2 separate regions of the Homo sapiens genome follow, and region 2 is linked to region 1. Evidence: promoter capture Hi-C in 16 types of primary human blood cells and fetal thymus (Javierre and others, 2016). All regions are on one chromosome and are shown on one strand. The core of a region is centred on a gene start or on the middle of the fragment in contact, and the rest is flanking DNA. Distances in the headings are between cores, read along the strand shown.

Region 1 (5,973 bases), core at 793-3,292:
AAGTCCAGGCCTTGTTCTATTTTCTGAATCCAAAATGCACTCTTATGTATTGCAGCCATTATTTTCCTGGAGCCCCTGATGTCAGGGAGCATAAAATCCAGATTTCTAGTCAGGACCCCTAAGAGTTTTCAGACTTCCAAAGTTTTGGAGTTCCGTAAGCAGCCAACCAGATGTCTAATACCAGAGGGCCCATCTAGTAAACACCTCTCACCTGGACTGTGGGACTGTCTTATCCACAAACAGGAAGATCGCCTTTTCAGAAGGAAGCTGGATCCTTTTCCTGATGATCCACATGAACTGAGCCACAGTGATATCAGATGGAACCAAGTACTTCCGTTTGTCAATGTCAACAATCTGAGAGCCTGAGACCTTTTCCACAATCACCTGGGAAAGTAAAGAGAGGTCAGGACTGTGTTTCCTAAAGCGAGGCTCTGGCCTCACATGGCTGAGGAGCTGATGAACAGAGTGTGGGCAAGGAGGTGGGTGGGGAACTGCATAGCAGGAGAAAATATGTCTTTGGCTTAATAAACCACACGCTCTGGAGGTTAAGAATTGATATAAATGTGTTACAGGGAAACAGTAAGTGCTTTTCTGTGGTCAATTATGTAAGAGAAATGCAGCCCTTACCACTAAGCTTTTCCACATTTTATCTGGGCAGACCTAAGAATATCTGGGGAGGGTTTCATCCATGGCCCGTTACTCCAGGACCCCAGAATGGATCCACCTTCACACTACAGGAAACACTACTGTGTTCCCAAGGAACACAGGAGACAAGAATGGATGGACTAATTGGAATGCCTGGAATTTTAGCCAGCCAAGAACCAAGTTCTTCATTTGGCCTGTTGCTCCTCTCTGAACAAGTTTCAAATCCGTCCCTCCTACTCCTTTCCCCAGACAAATTATTCACAAGCAAAGAGCTACAATAACAGGCCTTAATGTCCATTAAAAATTAATAACGATTACAAAACTATCTCCCCAACCATGGAAGAAATATAACATTATATTTATTATTGACTAAGAAGAAAATATGGCAGAAGGGGTTTTCAGCGGCTTTTCACATTATTTTGGTCAGGCAAGGATGACAGGGTCAAGGTGAGATAACGGAGCTAGAAGTTAGGTAAAGATGGAGACAAAGTAAAAGATGAACGTCCTGAGACTCAAGTACCACTTCCAAGACCAAAATGACAGTCTCCCTCCACCACCATTCCCAAAAGTGGCAGTGACCTGTTGCCCTGTCCTAGAACATCGTTCCTTACATAATTGGCCAGGGAGCCCCGAGGCTGCAGACGGCTCGCTGGCCTAGATCGGGAGATTCAGCACTGAGGCACCCTGAACAGCACCAGCCCGAGCCCCTCACGCCCCGGCCCTGGGCGGCCTCATCCCGGTCTGGCCCGTCAGCTACTGTAACTGGGACTGGAACCTCAACTTGTCAACTGTTGAATGGCCTGGGGCCTATCACGGGTCCCAGACGACAGAGGTGACAGCGAGGTGAGGGGGCGGAGAGTCCACTCACCGGAACCCTGTCGGGATATTTCGCTCGAATCTTCGCGGACTCCACGCATCTGTGTTCTGTGGGAGAAACAAACGGGGCTGACGGCCGCGCCTGCCCACCGGTCGGTTCCCGGCCCCCGGCCCTCCTCCTCCTGCGCCCTGCGTACAACCCAGGCCCTGGTTCCGGCGTCCCCGGGGCCGCGGTCCTGTCCCCTACTAGCTCCCAGCAAGGCCCGCGGAGGGTGACATGGGGTCAGGGGGCCGCTGCCCGAGGCACCAGGGCATGGGCGACTCCAGCCCGCAGCAGGGCATCCGCCCCGCTCCACTCGGCCCAGGGCCGCCCGAGTGGGGGAGGGGGCCCACCCGCCGCCCCAGCCCCCAGCAGCCGGGCCGACGACCAAGTGCTTACCCAGCGAGTGGTCCTCCTTGAACATCCACTTCATGGCGGCGGCGGGAAGGGGACGGAACCGGCTCGCGGAGCCGCGGAGCTCAGCGCACCGAGCACAACAACAACGACGGCGGCAGCGGCAGCGGCAGCGACGGCGGCGACTACACGGCAGGCGGGACTTCCGGCTGTCGGAGCCTAGCAACCGGCCGGGGGCGGGGCTTCCGGCGCCATTTGTCAGGGCGCCACGCCAAGGGGCGGGGCCGCACGTAAAGGGGCGGGGCCGCGGAGGACCCCTTTGGGGGCTCCTGGGCTGCGGTGGCGAAGAAGTTGGTTATGGGGACGTCTGTGAGCAGTATCTGCGACATTGCTCGCAGGAATGTTCGGGGAACTGGTGACAGGAGTGGGGTCTCGGGAGCGTTGGTGGCGGAAAACGTCTGGCTGATAGTGTAGGGCTCTTACTGAGGGCTGTTTGGGGGTGTGGCTGATAGCTGAGGGCTCTTAGAGCGGTTCATAGGGGAAGTCTGGGGAATTGGTGACAAGAACGGTCTTTAGGGGTAAGAATGACATAAGGAGGGCTTTCTAGAGCTTGGCGATAACAAGGGAGCTGTTTAGGGCGTTGACAGTTTGGGGAGTATTGCTCGGAGTGGTGACAGGTTGGGGGCTCATTATGGGAGGGGAGGGTGTTTGAGGACACTGTTGGAAGCGGCACTGAGGACAACCCGGAGGTCCGTATTAGGGACAGCCGTAGTAGGTTGTCTTGGACCTAGAAATTGAATTTAAACAAATCCCGTTTTCTTCCTTTATTCGTGAATAAATATTTGAATAAACATTTACGAAAAGGTATCACAAATGCACATTTGAGGCGGGGTACGGTGGCTCACGCCTGTAATCCCAACACTTTGGGAGGCCGACGCGGGTGGATCACCTGAGGTCAGGAGTTGAAGACCAGCCTGGCCAACATGGTGAAACCCCGTCTCTACTAAAAATACAAAAATTAGCCAGGCATGGTAGTGGGCGCCTGTAGTCCCAGCTCCTCGGGAGGCTGAGGCAGGAGAATCGTTTGAACCAGGGAGGTGGAGGTGGCAGTGAGCCGAGATCACACCACTGCACTCCAGCCTGGGCAACAGAGCAAGACTCCGCCTCAAAAAAAAATGCACATTTGAGGAGTGTAACATCACTGATCACAGACCCCTTAATTTTAACTGGCAGAGGAGTTAGAGGTGACTGTCAGACTCGGAGAATTCCCCTGAGAGCTGGTCATGAGATGGGTTTCCTTATTTGGCTGTGGGAGTGGTTTAGCAATCACAGCCTGAGCTGTGTGTGTGTCACCTGCCCGGACATATGCTTTGAGGTTCTCCAATCAGTGATGTAATGCCTTTTTTCCAAGCAGACTCATCAAGGCAGTCTGGTCTGGGTCACCATCTGTTTATAAGCTGCTGAACATGTAGCAGGAATATTCACTTAATTGGGCACATGAACCCTGCCACGTGCTTGTGATTCTGATGCACCTGTAAAGCCTGTATGTTTGAATGTGGTAGTTCATCATTTCCTACACTGGAAATTCCTGATCGATGCTGTGGAATCTAGCTTCATTCTATAAGTATTTTTGTTATTTTAAGACTGTGTGTCTGAGTAACTAGAATAGGTTTTTTTGTTTCTTTGTTTTTGTTTTTGTTTTTTGGAGACAGGGTCTTTCTCTGTCACCCAGGCTGGAGTTCAGTGGCACAATCTTGGCTTACTGCAGTCTGCCTCCTGGGTTCAAGCGATTCTGCTGCCTCAGCCTCCTGAGTAGCTGGGACTACAGGGACACACCACCACACCCAGCTAATTTTTGTATTTTTGGTAGAGATGGGGTTTTGTCATGTTCGCCAGGCTGGTCTTGAACTTCTCACCTCAAGTAAGTGATTTGCCCGCCTCGGCCTCCCAAAGTGCTAGGATTACAGGTGTGAGCCACTGCATCTGTTTGTTTGTTTTTAATGAAGTGGAAAAAATCCTTTGAATTTCCTACTTAGAAATTATTGTTACATACAAGAGCTCTGTGCTAGGTGCTGGGGAAAAACAGTGAAGAAGACAGATGACATCCCTATTCTCATGGGTGGCAGCATGAGATATTCTTGTCCCCCTGACATATTCTAGTGGGATAAGACAAAAAATAAGTATGTTAGGTAATGATAGGTGCTATTTCGAAAAATAAAGCACAGTAGGTGACTAGAGAGTGTGGTGGGATGGAATGCTAATTAGATAAAGTGCCTGGCATATTCTAGGGAACCCCTGTGGCTGGAGCTGAATAAATGAGAGAGGAGAGTGTGTTATGAGACAAATTCAAAGATATCTAGAACAAAACTGTGTTGAGCTTTGAATTCCATGCAAAGAGCTTTGGATTTTATTTAGAATGAGATGAGAAGTCAGTGTAGGGGTTTAAGCAGAGACGTAACACAATCTGCCTTTCCTTTTCAAAAGGCTAGCTTAGTAGACTGTAGGCGCTGAGGGTGGAAGCAGGGAAATAGTTGAGACACTATTGTGATAATCCTGGTGAAAGATGATGTTGGCTTTGGCCAAGGTGGGGTCTACAGAGGTGATGGGAAGCAGTTGTATTCTGGATATATTTCGAAGGTAAAACTGGTAACAGTTGCTGATAGATTGGATGTAAGACATGAGGGACAGATCAAAATCAAGGTTTTTGGAAGGATGGAATTGCCATTTACTGAAATAGGGTGGAGCCAGCTTGGGGAGTGAAAAACAAGAGTTTGGTTTTTGAGATATTAAATATGAGATGTCCAAGGGACATACACAAGTGAAGATGTAGAGTTGGTGAATGGTGCTATGAGTCTCAAATTTAGAGAGAAATATTTCAAGCTATTAAACTGGGTAAGATTAGGTAGACAGTGAGTTTAAAAATGAAAATACTTGGCCGGGTGCAGTGGCATATGCCTGTAATCCCAGCACTTTGGGAGGCCGAGGCAGGTGGATCACCTGAAGTCAGGAGTTCATGACCAGCCTGACTAACGTGTTGAAACCCCGTCTCTGCTAAATACAAAACAATTAGCCAGGTATGGTGGCACATGCCTGTAATCGCAGCTACTTGGGAGGCTGAGACAGGAGAATTGCTTTTACTTAGGAGGCAGAGGTTGCAGTGAGCTGAGATCGCGCCACTCCACTCCAGCCTGGGCAACAAGAGCGAAACTCCGTCTCAAAAAAAGAAAATACCTATTTTACAAATAGAATTAAACACTGAAGAATGAAGATGGTTGTTCACCATCTCCTAGTCAGTGAACCAGTGGAGGAGTTAGAAATTGGACTCAACACCCCTGCTTCCCTTTACAGAGCTGGTCATTGCATCCTAGTCCAAAATATATGTATATTGTCTTGCATGTGAAAGAGCTGAGAACACTTCTTAGGGGAAAATTTCACTGCACACCAATTCATAGACATGTCTTTTGATGGTCTCAATGATGTGCAATGCATTTTGGTCTTCCATCCTTACCTACTTTCTTGGTGTGTTTTCCCAGTTCACCATTCTAATTGACTTATTTCATCCACCTTGATGATATGTACCACCTTCTTTACATATTGGGTCATTGTATTTAGCTATGGAATGTTCTAAGGACACTGGATGCCTTCCTTGAGGGAGTGGTTAGTTAAGGACGTAAGTCAGGAGGAGAAATAGGATAATGAATATATGCAACGTAATTACACATTAACAAATCTATAAAACACAGAGAATGAATTTCAAATGTTGGAGAGGTATGTGAACATGGATACTGAGGCATTGCTAGGGCAATAGGGGCCAGCACAAAGCCAAGTGAGAATTAGCAAGGAAGACTTCACAGAGAATGTGAATCTTCTGTTGTAGAGAGAAGGGTACATTTTCATTGGGTAAACTTTTCCTTTCCAGATAAAAACAAAGGCTGGGGTTGGAAGAGGGAACAGAAAAGCAGTATAGATAAGTAAATAAAATGTTGGAAAGCTTTGAAGCAAACATTCAGAAGTTCTAACCTAATTCAGGAGACCCTGAATAAGAGCTCCTATAAAGGAGAGAAGAACATGATTAAAATGTGCAATTTGGGGCTGGGTGCAGTGGCTCATGCCTGTAA
Region 2 (5,695 bases), core at 1,588-4,087, 460 kb after region 1:
GGAAACACAGACAGCCCCAATCCCACCCCCACAACAAGAGCAGGCAACCTGGGTCCAAATTCAGAGGACACCACAGCCGGCAGAGGGCTGCAGCATGCCAGGTAGGACGGAAGTCGCTGGGGGTGGGGATGAGCACCAGCCCCTAGAGCCTGGAATAGCACCCGGCGTGGGCTACAGCCCTGCCCCACCCACCTCACAGCTGCTCGGCTCACCCATGGCACTGCCAAAGCAGCAGGCTTAAGCCGCCAAGGCGGGCACATGAAGCCTCCATTTCCAGGTCCAGGGGTCAGGCAAGGAGATCTCCTTCAGGGCTGGGCCCTGCCTCGCCAGCTTTGCTGGTGGAATTAAATATAGCACAGGGAGACACAGTTGCCAGGCAGAAGCAGGAGGTGCTGTGAATAGAACAGTGCCCTTTGTGGTGACAAAGCTATGGGGAGCCTGCTGTGCATGTGCCAAGACCTGCAGGGCAGCTCCCCCAGCCCCCACAGGGACCTCTGAGCTGCATGGTTTTGTCCCCGCTTCACATGTGAAATATCTGAAGTTCAGATGAAGTCGTTTCCCCAAGATCATTCTGCCAAGTAGGAGAGCCTGAATGCACAGTCTAGAGCCCACGTTCCTGCCACCGACTCACAACAGCCCCAAGGTCTTCACCCCAGACGGGTCCCGCGCTGAGACCCAGGCTCTGAACCACCGAGTCTTCTTTAGTGTTTCTCCGCTGGCCCTGGCTCACGTTTGCCCACTGGCCTGTTGTGAATGCCCTTGCACAGAGTAGGTGCTTCTGGAAGCATCTGATGGAGGGTGACTGCGGAGCCAGGGGCCGTGGCAGCAGGGGGATGGTCCAGCACATCAGGCGGGCCTGAGAAGGGTCAGAGCAGAGAGGCGGTGGAGTCGTCTCCCTCTAGAGCTTTCCTTCGCTGGCTCTGCAGGAGGCTCTGGAATGCTGCTCCGGGAGCCCGCTGGGCACGGGGACACAGGCCAGGCCTGCACTGCTGCTCCCTGCCCCGAGCTGCCTGCCCAGCCCGCATTTTGCCAACTTTTGTGAGCCTGAGCAGTTGGTTCTGGTTCAAGGGCTCTGAGCTGGCACAGCCCCAAACCAGGGCCTCTTCCTGGGCCTCAATGAAGCATGCCCGTGAGTCAGCACTGAGACGCAAACTGAACAACAGGCAGGGCGAGTGGAACGTGGGATGGGGAGCAAAGGCTGGAAGGAGGGGGGCTGGGCCCACACCTGGAAGAACCCACATCCTTGCAGCCTCCGGTGGCTGCAACATCTTGGCCCCTGCAGATCTTTTCAGAGGTCCAGCACAATGACTCCACAGAGGGCTGACTGGTTCCATGATGCTTAAGAGGTTAGGAAGCTTGTAGGAGGCACGCCTGACTTGCCACTCCCTCCACCCAGGCCTGACTATCTGAGGACCAATTCACACACCTGGAGCCCCGAGTAGCAGCCTGAAGGAATGCTAAGGAGGTAGGTGAGGGAGTGGGGGGCAGGCCCTTGCCCCCATTTCTTGATTGTATAACACTTCATTAAAATAAAATCACGCAGTGCCATCTTTTATTAGACATTTTAATACCATATCAAAACACCTTGACTAATGAAGAAAGCTTTTCTCCCAAGCTTTGAACATTTTTTTAAACATTTTATAAGTTTTTTTTTGTATTTTAATATATAAATACAGAAACCTATCTTGCATGGGCTGATGCCACGTGTGAACATCAATGGCTAAAATGTTCTCAAACATAGTGCCTGAAAACAGGGGTAGCTGTACATATTTCTTAGTAAGTCTTTTTTTGTTTAAGTTTTCTGAAAAAAAAAATCCACGAGGGCCTAAGAATAATGTTCAGGCATTTTTGCAGGACACTTGTGATTGTTAAATCCTCTGAACTGACCGGAACCAGGAGGAAAGAAGGGAAAAGAGATGGGATCAGTAGGAAGAAAGTTCTCAATGGGTTGTTTTTTGGCAATGAAGTCAAGATATTAGGGTCTCAAGGGGAGAAAAGAGCAAAAAACCAGCCAGAAAAATAGAGGGAAAAAACCAAACAAACCCAAAGTAGAGAAGTTGGTGGTGGAGAGGGCCAGTTGGGGCAGGGGAAGAGACCGTGTGCTCGCCCGCCGTCAGAAGGCTGGCAGCGAGGCCTTAGCTGTGTTCGTCTGTCACTGAGTGGGTTATGGCTGGGCAGCAAACAGCAAGCTGTAAACATCACGAGGGAAAACACCAGTCGACACTAGACTTTTTTTTTATATAATTTTTTTTTGTAAACACTTTAAAGACAGACCCACAATGCCTTTCAAAGATGAAAAAGAAAATGCCCTTTCCCTCCTGGGCTGAGGGGTGAGGGGAAGGATAGCAGTTGATTCATTCTTCTCTCAAACTTGCTCTCATCCAATTTGGTGTCCTCAGGGAGGAAGGGAGAACCATGATCTGGAAGTCAGTGCAGAAGGGGTGCCCTGTTCCCGCTGGTGTCCCAAGCTCAGCTCTGCCCCAGGGTCCGGTGAGCCTCCTCCCTGGAGCAGGGGCGCTCTGTCCCTGTGTGGACCGTAATAAATAAGTCGTGCTCCATCGGGCCGAGGGCTGTCTGCTCATCCCAGGGCAGCTGCATCCCAAGAGGGCAGGCGGGGCTGGGGCGTCTACACAGGACCCCAGAAGCCAAACAGCACACGGGGAATTTGCAGCCATGTGCCTGGGCAGGTTCTACTCCCCTGCCTCACTCTCCCCCCTGGCTCTTTCTTCTCCCCTTGTCATCAGTTTTTGAGGTGGAGGTAAAAAGAGCAAATGTCCCTGATTTGTCTGACATCATCAGCTGTTCTGGGAGTTTACTTGGAATAAATAAAATAAACCTAACAAAAGAAAACGAAAGCAAGAGAGAGAGAAAGGGAGGGGGGAAGAAAAAGGTCCCAAAACCTTTGGCTGTGAGATGGAGTTGGGCTTTTGGTTTTTATGGGGGTTTTGTCTACTTGTTTGCCAGAAAAAGGAAAATGCCAGCCCAGAACTTGGAGGGGACAGGTGAGATGGGGGTCAGGGGTGGATGGTTGGCAGCAAGTGGGGTACCCCTGGGGGAGAAATGGGGAGGCCAGACCCAGCGGTAAGCCAGGGGGATGTGTGGAGTCAGCACCCAGTGCTGTGGGATAGAGGGATCGAGTCTGGCCTGGAGGCCTCAGATTCATCTGGAAGCGGCATGGGAAGAAGCAGTGGTCAAATGATCGCTGACCAGCACTTTGCAGGGAACAATGCACTGCCCATGGCTGTTTAGTAAGTGCAATGTCCTTATGGCAACAGGGAGTGAGATTATCCCCGTTACCATAGAAGAGGCGGAGACTCAGAGGTGAGCGAGGATGAGGCCAAGCCAGGCACAAACCCACCGCTCAGGCTCCTTTTCCTGCCCGTGCACATTCCCAGGGGATATTCCTGAACTTTCTTTAGGAATGTAGATTGTACTGGTCTCTTCCCCAACTGATCCTAACTCTTCTGAGCCTGTTCTTCATAACTGTCCATGTTGGTTTGTATCTCTTGTCCTTCCCAGGGAAAATCATTTCCGGATGACTAACTGCTCACTGATGAGGTGCTCCTTCCCTCTGCTCCTGCTTTCTTCTCAGTGGCATAAGGGCAGCCCGGCTCCCTAAACTGCAGGCCCCCAAAGTGACCTGACCCCAAGCCTTGAGCCCGGAGCACCCCCAAACGCGGGCTCACCTTTGAGAGGAGTCAGCAAGCAAGCCCGCAGGTCAGTCCGCAGGGTGTTCCGGACAAGATCTGTTCACTTCAAACCACGAGTCTATGCAGCTGGGAGGAGGGGGCCGCAAGGGAAACCACGTTACCTGCTGCCCAGGCTGCTTTGAAGGGGCTCTTTCAGAGGGCCAGATTCCTGAGCAGGAGCTTCCTAAGTCTCTTCTGAAAGGACCCCAGGGAAACACAGTCATGTCCCCAGATATCCCTACTTTCTGAAGCACGAAGAAGGGTGAACACCAAGACTAGTCTTGGCCCAGGTGGAGGCAGCAGTACCGGCTCAGGGGGATCTGGTGCTGCAGGAAGGGGCAGAGTGGCTTTCAGAAGGACCAAAGCTTTCTGTGCAGAGCCCAGGAGAATGGCAGCAGCCACCAGTGAGAAGGTGAGAGCGGTGGACCCCTCAGGGCAGCTAGTCAGCTGTCTCCAAGACTCCCAAGGGCAGGGAAGTGGGAACAATGGCATGGCAGGAGGGCCACGGCTCTGGGTGCCACAGTCCTGAAAGAGCTCCTTCCTGGGTCAAAAGAACAGCTGTGAAGCTCCCTCCCAGTGGGTGACCTCTTAGGAGAGCCCCAAGCTCTACCCGGCTCAGCCATGATCAGCTGATCAGCAGCATCTAGTCCTTCCTGCAAGAGGCGGGAGGGGAGCCAGACAGTGAAGCCCTGCTCTCCAGTGTTTACAGAGAAAGGCTCTCTGCATCAAAGAGGGAACAGAGATTGCCCCAAGACAGCTTCCTGATTTGTAAACCAACATCTGGGCATTTTCAAAGACAGGAACCAGACAGATAATTGGCATAATTCTCCCCGAGGGCCAAAGATTTCCTTTTCTGGTTCTGGTTAGTGCCGCCCTGGGACACAAGCAAGGCTCCGTGCTGGGAGCTAGACCAAGAATCTCTCCCAGGCCAGCCTTAAGCCTCCTCTGCACCAGCCACACTGCGTGCCATGCCCGGTTGTCACCCTGTGCAGCAGTGGCCCTGAGAGTCAGGCTTTGAAAGGCCTGAGTGTCAGGAAGAAGCTCTGGGCTCGAGGATTCAACAGGTGCTGGCCCCAGGCAGCACAGTGTCCTGTCTTGGGCAAGAGGGTGCCTTCCTTCCAGCTGGAAACAAGGACGAGGCTCACACTGGAGTCCCAAGGCATATCTGGGCCCTGCTACTTTTAACTGTGCCCAGTGCTGTGGCCCCACAGGAAATGGCTCTTCCTGCCTCCCGGCCCTCTAGGGAGAAGGCCAGTGCAAGGCAGTGGGTACACCCTCCGCCTGGCCTTCCTCGCACAGATTGATGTTCTACCCCTGTGGAGCAGAGGGACCCGTAGAGGAAGAAGAGGCAGGGAGACAGACGGAGAACCAACCTTCCCAGTGGGATCCGAAGCTCCTCCAACCTGTGAGGCTCTACGGGTCTCCCCATCAGCTCCCACCACCTGAGCCCTCAAACCAGAGCACACCTCTGGCAACTCCACTCTGCTCTGCACTTGGGATGCTCGCACCTTCCCGCCGGCACAGTGGACACCTGTCTGATGGCCTCTGCCCTTACCCGCTCGGAGCCAGAGGTCGGGGGAGAGGTCATCCCATAACCAAAGGAGACAGAATGGCTGGAGATGGGGGTCCGCCCCTCTGGGAGGTGGGGTGCACTAAGCTACCTTGCCAACCCCTCCTACCTTTTGTGATAGATGCACAGGCAGGGCAGCCTGGCTATCGTGTCCCCCTGCAGCAGCTCCTCCAGGCAGATCACACACTCACCCGCGTCTTTAGTCAGCACATCATCTGCAAGGGGGACAGGGGAGAGTGCAGGAGGGTTAGTCACCAGTGGACAGGTGGCATGGGGCAAGCAAGGGCCTAGGAACTAGGGGACTGCTTAGCTGCCCCAAGCTGTGCCCGGCTCTGCAGGGGACACAGAACCCCAAGAGGGACGTTGACCTTAAGACTTTCACCGTGGAGATAATGCGTGGACATCACATGTTAATTACCCAAAGACAAAATGGGAT

The links. The method cuts DNA at HindIII sites, captures the fragments that hold promoters and counts their contacts. A CHiCAGO score of 5 or more calls a contact.
Region 2: a fragment that was not itself captured here is called in contact with the fragment with the promoter of GABARAPL2 in region 1 in 1 of 17 cell types (monocytes); the score reaches 6.6 in monocytes.

What each region holds. Positions count from the first base shown.
Region 1 is chr16:75,562,448-75,568,420 of GRCh38, reverse strand. GABARAPL2 (GABA type A receptor associated protein like 2) reads right to left here and starts at 2,042. Exons shown (of 4, transcript NM_007285.7): 1 at 1,901-2,042; 2 at 1,514-1,569; 3 at 212-384. The coding sequence starts at 1,934. RefSeq lists an enhancer at 827-1,580 and a silencer at 1,570-1,979. The HindIII fragment of the contact is 5,212 bases long and covers 637-5,848 here.
Region 2 is chr16:75,104,563-75,110,257 of GRCh38, reverse strand. ZNRF1 (zinc and ring finger 1) reads right to left here. Exons shown (of 5, transcript NM_032268.5): 3 at 5,369-5,474; 4 at 3,687-3,776; 5 at 1-2,525. The coding sequence ends at 3,719. Among named protein-coding and RNA genes, the nearest start is that of LDHD, 9.4 kb to the left of the region's middle. RefSeq lists enhancers at 969-1,048, 1,079-1,228, 2,423-2,592. The HindIII fragment of the contact is 2,439 bases long and covers 1,618-4,056 here.